3 separate regions of the Homo sapiens genome follow, and all the other regions are linked to region 1. Evidence: promoter capture Hi-C in human tissues and cell types (Jung and others, 2019). All regions are on one chromosome and are shown on one strand. The core of a region is centred on a gene start or on the middle of the fragment in contact, and the rest is flanking DNA. Distances in the headings are between cores, read along the strand shown. Region 1 holds the start of CMA1 (chymase 1). Region 2 has its middle 6.9 kb from the start of CTSG. Region 3 overlaps LOC101927045 (a long non-coding RNA gene).

Region 1 (4,196 bases), core at 752-3,251:
GGCTGGCTTTCTCCTTCAACTGTGAAGGGAATGAAGGACTGTCAGTCCTCGAAATGGGCTCTGGACAGTTGGAGGTGATCAGGGAGGGACAGGGTGAGTAGCTTCATGTTATAGCCAAGTCCTAAGAAAAATTCAGGGCAATGAGGACCTGAAGGAGAAGCTTAGGAGAATGGGAAGTGGAAAGGGAGAAGAGAGGTGTTGTCACCTTTAGTAACATGATATCGTGGTGAAGAGTAGAAGTGTTATATTTTGGATGACGGAATTGCTTTATAACCTCAAGCTTCTGCCATGTGTCTTCTTCCTCTGTTATGTTATGGGCTCCAAGGGTGACTGTTATAGACCTGTTGTGAGGAAGAAGGAAGGAAAAGGAGCGACAGTGATGGCTTGGGGTTTCTTCTGAGGTGAGCTCATTCTGAGAAAAGAGGACTAAACTCTGTCACTGGGTCGCCGGACTCTACCCATCTCCCTTTTCATGGGCCACTTGTGGCATTTGAGGGCTCAGGCTTAACTCATGAAAGAGCTTTCTCAGGAAACAGACACAATTTCTACGACCCCTGGAATTGCTGGGGACTGAACAGGCCAGGGAGGACTCAGGGGACAGGGTTCACACTTCCTAATTCAGGGAACCCTGCATGAGGGCCAGCCCCTGAAGCAGGAGATATCAGTTAAACGGGAAAGTGGGGGTCTCATGTAGACCCTGTTCTCTGCCTCCCATAAAATGATGGGTTCAGGACCCTGAGAACTAGAGGCCAGTGTTCTTGAAAAGGCCATAGAGGAAGTGGCCCTGAGACTGGGTGGGGCCCTGAAAAGTGAGCCGTGTGTCTTGAGTTGGGTAGGGGTGAGGGGTGCTACTGCAACAAGAGGGACCTTGGACAGGACCTCCTTTTCCTCCGAAGGGGAGCTTAGCTCACAGTGACTGAGGCTCAAGGAACTATTCAAACACAGACTAAAGTCTTTCAGCCCAAGTCTTCCCTCTCCTGAAAGTTGACAAGACCCAGGACCCCCTCTTCAGTCCCCAGTGCAGGTGTATTCCTGGATGCTACTCTGGTTGTTCATCTCCCATTTGGAGATAAATAGACCCTGTTGTCTCACCTTCCTGCACAATGAGCAGCCGTCAGCACAAAGTTCCGTCTTATAAGGAAACCACCACAAAATTTTGAGGGACCGTTGGAAGTTACAATTTCCAGGTAGGCCATGTAGGGGCGGGAATGTGGCTTGCATTCTGTGCCCCCGATGATCTCCCCTGGAACAGAGCACCCCAGGGTTTGAACACGGCCATAGATACTCTCTCCAATGAATGGACAAATTGGGTTAAAGCTGAGCTAGGCTTCCCTGGAATCTCATTCTCACCCTGTGTTCCGCCCATCTTCCCTCTCCTGTCTCCTGTATTTCGTATCTTTCCCCACCCATAACCTCCCAGGTGAAATCTCATTCTTGCCTCTGCTCCATTCTGATGTTTTCATCTCAGACTTCTCCCACTCCCACCTTGCCCTGGCCCACCCTCCTCTGTCTCTGTGTAGGACCCACTGTCCAGGTTCCTGTTTTAGATTTCTCCATAGCTCTTGAGCATGGTCACAGAGTGAGAAAGTCACAAAGTAATGGGTAGCCCTGATGCTCAGAAGATTAAGAGGACATGTCTGTTTTCCTGGGGATACCCCTTTTCCTTCCACTTGCTCTGGGCTTTTCTACAATTGAGGTGAAATTCCTTGTTCCTGGGGGCTGTCCTAGGCTGTAGAGAATGGCAGTGGGTGGGGGTGGGGGTGGGGTGGCACACATCCCAAGTGGAAATTTCCCTCTGGGACTCTTGAAGAGAGATCTTGGAACCCTGTTTAGGAGTCAGCTATTTTCAGACTAAACATCTTTGTTTCAGGAGCTGATACTGCAGATTTCAGAGGGAAGAACCCTGATACTCACCAGCTTCAGCTCTGGAGCACAAGAGAAAGAGCAGCAGGGGGAGAGGAAGAAGCAGCATCTTCCCAGAGAGGCTGCCTGAGCAAATGCTGGTTTTCCTTTCCAGTCTTGGGTTTTATAACTCCCAGAAGGCAAGAGAGGGGCAAGGCTGGTAACCACAGGAACTGCATGGTCACGTTTTCTTCTCTCACTCTGAATTGGCTGTTTCTGATCAGAAGTTCCCCTAGAATCACCCAGTGTTTTTCTAGAAAGGAACTTGAGCCCTGAACTCCCAAGTGCTGGCTTCTCAGATGTACCCTCAACTATGGTGACTTTTCTGGAGTTGGGGGCAGGAAATGGAGGGACCATGTTTTTCTTTCCCAATTAGGGCAGCTTGTGAAAGGCCCACTGAACGTTCAGTGCAAAGACTTTTATGGCTATGTTCCATAGTCAGAAATGCATATTGCAGAGTCCCAGTGCATGCACATATGTATGTGTGAGTATGTAAGCACAAATTAAAGGTTTCAGGAAACAATCTTTATCTTAACCATGTGCAGTGTTTTCTGTTAGTTTCCATTCCACTCCACTCCACTCCATTCCACTACACGTCAAAACTTGAGCAACAACCCCATTTAAATGATAATTCCTTGTAATTTGAAAAACATTGACCTGGATCTCTCTCCTCCTCTGAACCACATGTTTTTGACAGAAGAGAGATCCAAGGAGGGTAGATGTGGGAAAAGAACAGACCCTAGGACAGAACTTTATGCAAAGAGCAATTGGGATTGGAATTAGCATTTTCTGAGAGTCTAGGTGTATCATATATTGTCACAACTCTTAGATATATTATTACTTTCACGGCAACCCTATCAATATGTATTACCATTATGATCATTATCATGTCATGATAGTCAATTTTTTAAATCAGCTATCATAGCTTATGGTTCAGAAATAGATTTTCCTGATATCAAATCAAGGTCCCTTTCTGCTCTAGCACTAGAGAGAAATAGAGGAATAGAGTCCTGCCAATGTGCAGGGGAAGTAAAGATGTAGAAGGGTGTTTGCTCCAGAGAGGTTGGGGTTTCCTACTGTTGCATTAAGAATCAAGCTTTCCACAACAACCTGGGGACACACCATTACTGTCACTTTACAATTGTAGAATTGATACTCAGACCCATTAACATGACAAAGATCACACACCTTATAATATCAGAAGTGGGTTTCAAGCACATAGCTTTTATTTTCCCTGGACTTACAGAAAGCAGTCCACATGGTGGACTGTCATTTCTCTTGGAGATTTATAAGGCATTTAGTTCAAAGACGGGGATGAGTAGTGTATAAGTGCCTTTCCCAAATCATCTCACTATGCCCTTGGTCTCAGGTTGGGCTTGTGACCAGAGTGATCCACTCCTTAGTATATATTGGCCAGGTCCTCTGTTGCTTTTAACTTAATTTCCCAAGTTCTACCTACAGCTCTAACTCTCTCTAGAATAAGACATTTAAACACATCCGTAATGTCTTTTCAAATCTGGTCTTCTTAAGTGTCCTTGTACCACTTTCTTCACTCTCTCGGGGGTTGCCAGAGAATATTCAGAATGCCCAGTTAAATTTGTATTTCAGATGAACAACAAATCATTTTTTAGTTAAGTATGTCCAAATATTGAATGGGACACACTAATACTAAAAAATTGTTGTTTATCTAAAATTTGAATTTAACTGGAATCCTGTATTTTTTATTTGCCAAAGTTGGCAACTCTTCTCTGGGCATTTCACCATTAACAGAACAGAAGAGAATCCGGAGCTGGAGAACTCTTGTCTTGTGGTCTTACATCAGTTAGACCAAAAAATCAGAGGCTTAAACAAATCAAAGCTGTTTGCTTTCACTGATATAATTAGAAATTGAGAGGCAGGTAGTCTGGGGCTAGTAAGACAGCTCCACAGCATCAAGATTCAGATCCACCAAGACTTAAGTTTTGCTCCACCTGCCTGGCTGAGGGTGAGGAAATGGAATAGGTATAGCCCCAGTCAGGGGACCAATTTCAGAAACGAGGACTGCGCTATCTGCTCACATTTCCTTCTTTGCTTTGTCATATGTATACCTGTGTATTTTAAGAGATTTCCTTTTTCTCTTTCTTCTTCCCCCTTTGGTTATTTTATATATAGCATGTTGGTAGTGAACTTTATGGTTTAGGGTACAGTTATCAAGTTGGGAGACTAGAGAATATCAAATTGAAAATGTGACCAAACTATTGTTGGAGCAGGTATCACCTAGAGACACAGTACTTGAAGTTAAAAGCAGTAACTGT
Region 2 (4,196 bases), core at 1,226-3,725, 61 kb after region 1:
CCCTCTGGGACACACTAACACCAATGCCAAAGTAAACTTCTCTGGGGCCTAAAAACAGGCACACTCAGCCTGCTGCTGCCACCACTGGGGCTTGAAGACTGGCTCAGCTGGTGTCCAAATCCTCAGCTAAACTTAACCACAGCCTTAACTAATAACTATACTTAAGCCACTGAGGATATCACAGATACCACTGACGCTGTGTGCTGCTGAATAAGACATACAAAGGTCACACTACCACAGGCACTCCAAATTAAAGCCAAAGTGTCCTACTATATATATACATCTTCAGAAAAAAATTGTCCCCTAAAAAAGCATTTCAAAAAATTGGAACAAGCTATATCAGATGCTCAGATGTTAATAGAAGGACACAGGATTCACAAAAGGTAAGGAAATATGACACACCAAAGGACCACAACAATTATCCGGCAACATATTCCAACCAAAAATAATTGCTCAATATTCCAGATAAAGAATTCAAAATATTGATTCTGAAGAAGTGCAATGAGATGCAAGAGAAATCTGCATCAAACAAATAAATCAGAAAGGCATTCAAGAAATGAATGAGAAATTTACCAAGGAGATAGATACCTTAAAAAAAAAAAGCATAAGTTCTGGAATTGAAAAGCTCATTGAAAGAAATAAAAAAAATATTTGAAAGCTTCAATAATAGACTAGATCTAACAGAAGAAACAATCTCAGAATTTGAATACAGGTCTTTTGAAATAATCCAGCCAGACAAAAATAAGGAAAAAAGAATAAAAAATAATGAACAAAGCAGATGTTTGGGACTATATAAAGCAAACAAACTTAAAAATTATTGGTGTTCCCAAGGAGGAAAAGAGATCAGAGTTTAGAAACCCTGTTTAAGGAGGTAATCTATGAAAACTTCCCAAGTCTAGCAAGAAAGTTAGACACCCAGGTATAGGAGGCCTAGCAATCTCCATGAAAATACATTGCAAAAAGGATTTCACCATGGCATATTATATTCAGAATGTCTAAAGTCAAGGTAGAAGAAAGAATTTTAAAATTAGCAAGAGAAAAGCATCTAGTCACCTGTAAAGGAAACCTTATTGAACTAACAGCAGACTTTTCAGCAGATACCTTACACAGGAGAAGAGAATGATATGGTATATTCAAAGTACTGAAAGGAAAAAATTGTCAGTCTAGATTTTTATTTTCTGCCAGAATAAGCTTCATAAATGAAGGAGAAATAAAGTTTTTCCCAGAGAAGCAAACACTGAGGGAAATTGTCACCACTATACCAGCCCTAAAGGAAATGCTCAAAGGGGTCTTAAACATGGAAACAGAAGGTTGATATTCACCATCACAGAAACAAATGAAAATATAAAACTCATAGGTCTTATAAAACAATCACACAAAGGAGGAAGAGAAAAGGATCAAATGGCAACATGACAGAATTTCATCAAACCACAAAGAGAAAAACACAGAGAAAAAAAAAAGAAAGAAATAATTTATAAAACAACTTGAAAACAATTAACAGTGACAGGAATAAAGCTTTACATATCAATATCAACCTTGAATGTAAATGGACTAAATGCTCCACTTAAAAGATATAGATTGGGCCGGGCGCGGTGGCTCACGCCTGTAATCCCAGCACTTTGGGAGGCCGAGGCGGGCGGATCACGAGGTCAGGAGATCGAGACCATCCCGGCTAAAACAGTGAAACCCCGTCTCTACTAAAAATACAAAAAATTAGCCGGGCGTAGTGGCGGGCGCCTGTAGTCTCAGCTACTTGGGAGGCTGAGGCAGGAGAATGGCATGAACCCGGGAGGCGGAGCTTGCAGTGAGCCGAGATCCCGCCACTGCACTCCAGCCTGGGCGACAGAGCGAGACTCCGTCTCAAAAAAAAAAAAAAAAAAAAGATATAGATTGGCAGAATGCATTAAAAACATGACTGAACTATATTCTACATACAAAACTCATCTTACCAATAAAGACACACATAGACTCAAAGCAAAGAGGTGGAAATAGATATTCTACACAAAAGGAAACCAAAAGTTAGCAGAAGTAGATATATTGTATCAGATAAAACAGACTTTAAATAAAAAGCAGGAAAAAAGACAAAGAAGGTCATCATATAATGATAAAGGGATCAATTCAGCAAGAGGATATAGCAGTCCTAAATGTATATGCATTCAACATTGGAGCACCCAAATTAATAAAACAAATATTACTAGACCTAAAGAGGTGGCAATACAATAATAGCGGGAGCTTCAACATCCCACTCACAGGACTAGATAGATCATCAAGACAAAAAATTAACAAAGAAACATTGGACTTAAATTGGACTTTAGACTAAATGGACTTATACAGAACATTCTATGCAACAACTACAAAATATACATTCTTTTCATCAGCATATGGAATATTCTTCAAGATAAACCACGTTAGGTTATAAAACAAGTCTTAACAAATTTTAAACAATTGAAATTACCTCAAGTATCTTCTCAGACCACTGTGAAATAAAGGTAGAAATCAATACCCAGAGGAACTTTGGAAACCATAAAAATACATGGGAATTAAACAACATGCTTCTGAACAATCACTGGGTCAAGAAAGAAGTTAACACAGAAATTAATTTTTTTTTGAAACACATGAAAATAAAAATGCTATATACTAAAACCTGTGGGATACAGGAAAAGCAGTGCTAAGAAGGAATTTTATAGCATTAAATACCTACATCAAAAAGTAGAAATATTGAAAATAAGCAACCTAACAATGCAAACTAGAAATGCTAGTTTGACAAGGAACTAGAAAAGCAAGAACAAACCAAACCCAGAATTAAAAAGAATAACAGAAATAACAAAGATCAGAGGAGAACTAAATGTAATAGAGACCAACAAAAGTTTACAGAGGACCAATGAAACAAAAAATTGGTTCTTCAAAAAGATAAACAATATTGACAAACCACTAGCTAGACTTACCAAGAAGAGAAAATCCAAATAAACACAATCAGAAATGAAAAAGAGACATTAAAACATGCCACAGAAATACAAAGATCATCAGAGACTATTATGAACAATTATATACTTACAAACTAGAAGACCTAGAGGAAATGGATAAATTACTGAAAACATCTCCTGAGATTGAACCAGGAAGAAATAAAACTCCTGAACAGATCAATAGTGAGTAGTGAGATTAAATTAGTAATAAAAATATTCCAGCAAAAAAAACCCAAGACCAGCTGAATTCTACCAAACAAAGAACTAATACAAATCTTCCTGAAACTATACCAAAAAATCAAGGAGTAGGGAATTCTTCCTAACTCATTCGATGAGGCCAGTGTCACCCTGATACCAAAACTAGACAAAGATACAACAAAAAAGAAAACTACAGACCAATATCCCTGATGAATCTAGTCATCCATGACCTTCTTTGTACTGTTGAGTAGCAGTTTCAGGCAACTGCAGAATCTTGTGGAGCAACACTTGAGATTCTGGAGTAGAGAGAGGTTTCTCATTTACATGTACATGTCAGACACAGTCCTGGCCTTGCAGGTAGGGCCTCTGAAGGCTCCACATGGAACGGGAAGAGGCAGAGCTCAACTCAGAATCTTCAGATTTTCCATCTACACAGACTCTTTCTTCTCTGCTCCCCCTTCTCTGGCCTTTGGTTGTTTGAAAAGGAAAATGGCTTAGTGTGGGTGAATGGGTGCGTGTGTGTGTGTGTGTGTGTGTGTGTGTGTGTGAGAGAGAGAGAGAGAGAAAGAGGAGAAAGACTTTCTCTTTCTGAAATATCATCACCTGACCCAATCCTTCTCCTTTTTGCCTTAGCTGTTGGGTTGGGGGAGAAGTTCCCAGTGAGGTTTCTGTGCCTGAGCTTACCATAATTTTATGACTTTCCATTCAAGTTGATAAGGCTTCTAACGCACAAAGTCTGCACGTGGAAAAAGAAAGAATTGTGTTCTTTTGCACTGGTTTTCATTGTGCAAAATGCTTTCTTGCCAAAGTTCTGCTGATGAGGTTTACTCAACAGGGAAGAGTGCAGATTTGTTAGAAGTGGTGGATCTGGCTTCTGGGATGGTCACCTTCTGGAGGTGAGTACCCTGGGGTCTGTAGAGACCTTTTCAGTAGGGCAGCAGAGACAAAGAGCTGCCTTGGAAGTGCTGACTGGCAGAGAAAGACCTGAAGATGAGATGAATGCCCTCGGGGCTTCCTGGGGACTGAGTCCTGAGA
Region 3 (4,196 bases), core at 871-3,370, 36 kb before region 1:
CTAGGGTTCTATAGCACCATAGGATAACTATAGTTAACAATAATATATAGTTTCAAATAGCTAGAAGGAGGATATTGACTGTCCTCAACACGAAGAAATGATGTTTTAGATGATGGATATGCTAATTACCCTGACCTGACCACTATACATTATATGTATCAAAACATCACCATGTATGTACTCCATAAATATGTACAATTATATATCAATAACAAAATTTAAAAATGAAAATGTCATACAAATATTAATAGCATCTTAAAAAATATTTTTATAGGGACAAGCTACAGTCCATACTTTTTTTCATAATTTTATTTTATTTTTATTATACATTAAGTTCTAGGGTACATGTGCACAATGTGCAGGTTTGTTACATAGATATACATGTGCTACGTTGATTTGCTGCACCCATTAACTCGTCACTTATATTAGGTATTTCTCCTAATGCTATCCCTCCCCCTGCCCCCCACCCCACGACAGGCCCCTGTGTGTGATGTTCCCCACCCTGTGTCCAAGTGTTCTCATTGTTCGATTCCCACCTATGAGTGAGAATATGCAGTGTTTGGTTTTCTGTCCTTGTGATAGTTTGCTCAGAATGATGGTTTCCAGCTTCATCCATGTCCCTACAAAGAACATGGACTCATCCTTTTTTATGACTGTATAGTATTCCATGATGTATATGTGCCACATTTTCTTAATCCAGTCTATCATTGATTGACATTTGGGTTTGTTCCAAGTGTTTGCTATTGTGAATAGTGCTGAAATAAACATAAGTGTGCATGTGTCTTTATACTAGCATGATTTATAATCCTTTGGGTATATACCCAGTAATGGGATGGCTGGGTCAAATGGTATTTCTAGTTCTAGATCCATGAGGAATCACCACACTCCCTTCCACAATGGTTGAACTAGTTTCCACTCCCACCAAGAGTGTAAAAGCGTTCCTATTTCTCCACATCCTCTCCAGCATCTGTTGTTTCCTGACTTTTTAATGATCGCCTTTCTAACTGGTGTGAGATGGTATCTCATTGTGGTTTTGATTTGCATTTTTCTGATGACCAGTGATGATGAGCGTTTTTTCATGTGTCTGTTGGCTGCATAAATGTCTTCTTTTGAGAAGTGTCTGTTCATATCCTTTGCCCACTTTTTGATGGGGTTGTTTTTTTCTTGTAAATTTGTTTAAGTTCTTTGTAGATTCTGGATATTAGCTCTTTGTCAGATGGGTAGACTGCAAAAATTTTCTTCCATTCGCTACAGTCCATACTTTTACAGTGAGTCCTGAGGTCATTATTAACAGTCATTATCTTCCTTTAGCACCTTTTCTGCATTCCCTACCCTAACTCCCTGGCAAGCACTTCTGATGGTTTAGGTTGTTTATTCAATAAGGCAAATCGGATCTTTATCTCTAAGGTTACCGTGCCATTGTTAAGGCAGGATTTCTGCAATTGTGTGTTATAGTTATCACTGGGTAGAAGCATCAAGAAGTGTCTTGTACTGCTTTCTGGGCCACAATTACATTGTTTTGTGGCAACAACTTGATCTCTTCATGATAACCAGGGTCATTTAGTAACTTCACTGTTGCCTAGAGATCTACTGTCAAAAGAAGCTTGACATGACAGTTGGCAGCCGTAACTTTATTTTTTAGTGAAACCCTTATTGTATCCCTGGCCCTGGTGAAAGCAAATCCCCCACTCTGTGCTTGGAAATGAGGACCTTTATTAAGTGGGACCTAAAATTGTAGGGACAGAAAAGCCAAATTTACCACGTTGGTCCCTAGGAGTGCTTGCCTTATACTATGACTTGGTGGTTCTGATATGATTCAGCTCATGATGGACAGCTGTGATCACACAGTCACCCTTATGTCCCATGGTCAGATATTCAGTGTCTGCTAGGGCCCAGTAGCACCCTGGGAACTACTTTTCATATGGTAAATAGTTCTCTGCTACATATGGCATAACCTTACTATGGAACCCTAGAGGTCTGTGCTATAATTCACTTATGAGGGCTTGTCAGTCATTTCAGAGGTGCCCACCCTTATCTGTCATGGCTACCTTTAGCACCCATGGAATCTGCTGGGTCATATGATTACGGGCCAGGGCTGCTCATACAGCAGGATGAACATGCCGCAGGACTCTCTTGTTTTGGGAGATCCTCTGAAAAGCTGACAGCAGCCTTCTGAGAAAACCCATTAAATGGGCTGGAGCAGTATTCCCAAGAGTGTTATATGCTATGTGCAAAATCCAAAGAGGCCTGCCGGGCACTGTGCCTCTTTGTAGTCCATGTCGTCAATATAGCGGATCCATCTGATGATCTGTGAAATGTCCAGATGCAAAGGTCTCTTTGGACTGTGTTGAGAGAGAACCGGAGGTTTAATATAGTGCTGAGATGAGACTGCTTTCCATACTGGGTGAATGCAAACTGTTCTGATCCTTCCTCCTGACGGGAACTAAAAGAACACATTTGCCTTATCAAAAGTCACATATCAAATGCTAGAGGCTGTGTTGCTCTATTCTAATGAAGACACAACATACAAAACTGCAGTAACCGCTGCTCCACCACTTGGTAGAGTAGTCTGCTATCATCTGCTAGGGTGTATTTGGTTTTCCAGGTGACCATTTCTGTATCATTTAAATCTTTGAGGCTACCACCAAATTCTGCCATTTTACCTGGAATGTTGTATTGTTTCTGATTTGCCATCTTGGCTAGGTTGTGGACAACTAAAGCCTTTTTTACCGTAATGCCTCTTATTTTATAAGTCAGGGAATCATGAGAGTTCCATCAGCATTTAAGTGCTGCCTATACATTAAAAGTATGCACTCAGGGACCAGGGTATTTACCAAAGGGTAGGTTCAAGGACCCAACTGGCCCACTGTGGGATAGATTTAGGATAGGGCTTCCTTTATCATTTGGTGCCTTTCAAGTGCAACTCTAACAGATGGACCACAACATATTTTGGGTTCCCTAGTATTAGTGAGAGGTGACAGCGTGCTGGCAGCCCTGGCAGCCCTTGCTCACTCTTGGCGGTGCCTTGGCCTTGGCGCCCACTCTGGCCATGCTTGAGGAGCCCTTTATTCTGCCGCTGCACTGTGGGAGCCCCTCTCTCGGCTGGCTGAGGCTGGAGCCGGCTCCCTTTGCTTGCGGGGAGGTGTGGAGGGAGAGGCGCAGGTGGGAACCGGGGCTGGGCGCGGCACTCGGGGGCCAGTGTGAGTTCCGGGTGGGCGTGGGATCGGCAGCCCGCACTAGGGCTTAGCACCTGGCCAGCAGCTGGGGAGGGTGCACCGGGTTCTCTAGCAGTGCCAGCTGGCAGGTGCTGCACTTGAATTCTTGCCAGGCCTCAGCTGCCTCTCCGTGGGGCAGGGCTCGGAACCTGCAGCCCGCCATGCCCAAGCCTCCCCACTGCCCTGGGCTCCTGCGCAGCCTGAGCCTCCTCGACAAGCACTGCCCCCTGCTCCAGGGCTCCTGGTCCCATCAACTGCCCAAGGGCTGAGGAGTGTGGGCGCATGCGGGACTGGCGGGCAGCTCTGCCTGAAAGGTCCTGGTGTAGGATCCACTAGGTGAAGCCAGCTGGGCTCCTGAGTCTAGTGGGGACTTGGAGAACCTTTATGTCTAGCTAAGGGATTGTAAATACACCAATCAGCACTCTATGTCTAGCTCAAGGTTTGTAAACACACCAATCAGCACCCTGTGTCTAGCTCAAGCTTTGTAAATGCACCAATCAGTGCTCTGTGTCTAGCTAATCTGGTGGGGACTTGGAGAACTTTTATGTCTAGCTAAAGGATTGTAAATGCACCAGTCAGCACTCTGTGTCTAGCTCAAGGTTTGTAAGCTCACCAGTCAGCACCCTGTGTCCAGCTCAAGGTTTATAAATGCACCAATCAGCACTCTGTATCTAGCTAATCGGATGGGGACTTGGAGAACGTTTATGTCTGGCTCAGGGATTGTAAACGCACCAATCAGCACCCTGTCAAAACAGACCAATCAGCTGTCTGTAAATCAGACAAATCAGCTCTCTGTAAAATGGACCAATCGGCAGGATATGGGTGGGGCCAGATAAGGGAATAAAAGCAGGCCGCCCCAGCCAGCAGTGGCAACCTGCTCGGGTCCCCTTCCACACCGTGGAAGCTTTGTTCTTTTGCTCTTTGCAATAAATCTTGCTGCTGCTCACTCTTCGGGTTTGCACTGCCTTTATGGGCTGTAAC

Evidence for each region. The method cuts DNA at HindIII sites, captures the fragments that hold promoters and counts their contacts. A contact is called where the count stands out against the background at its distance.
Region 2: a contact is called between a fragment that was not itself captured here and the fragment with the promoter of CMA1 in region 1, in 6 of the 25 tissues and cell types used here (H1 embryonic stem cells, aorta, heart right ventricle and 3 more).
Region 3: a contact is called between a fragment that was not itself captured here and the fragment with the promoter of CMA1 in region 1, in 1 of the 25 tissues and cell types used here (bladder).

What each region holds. Positions count from the first base shown.
Region 1 is chr14:24,506,264-24,510,459 of GRCh38, forward strand. It overlaps CMA1 (chymase 1), which reads right to left and starts at 2,002. Exons shown (of 5, transcript NM_001836.5): 1 at 1,915-2,002; 2 at 1,093-1,243; 3 at 206-341; 4 at 1-19. The coding sequence starts at 1,972. RefSeq lists an enhancer at 611-1,810. The HindIII fragment of the contact is 12,986 bases long and covers 1-4,196 here.
Region 2 is chr14:24,567,265-24,571,460 of GRCh38, forward strand. No RefSeq gene overlaps it. Among named protein-coding and RNA genes, the nearest start is that of CTSG, 6.9 kb to the right of the region's middle. The HindIII fragment of the contact is 6,762 bases long and covers 1-4,196 here.
Region 3 is chr14:24,469,999-24,474,194 of GRCh38, forward strand. All of the region lies in intron 2 of LOC101927045 (a long non-coding RNA gene), which reads left to right. Among named protein-coding and RNA genes, the nearest start is that of SDR39U1, 29 kb to the left of the region's middle. The HindIII fragment of the contact is 3,573 bases long and covers 335-3,907 here.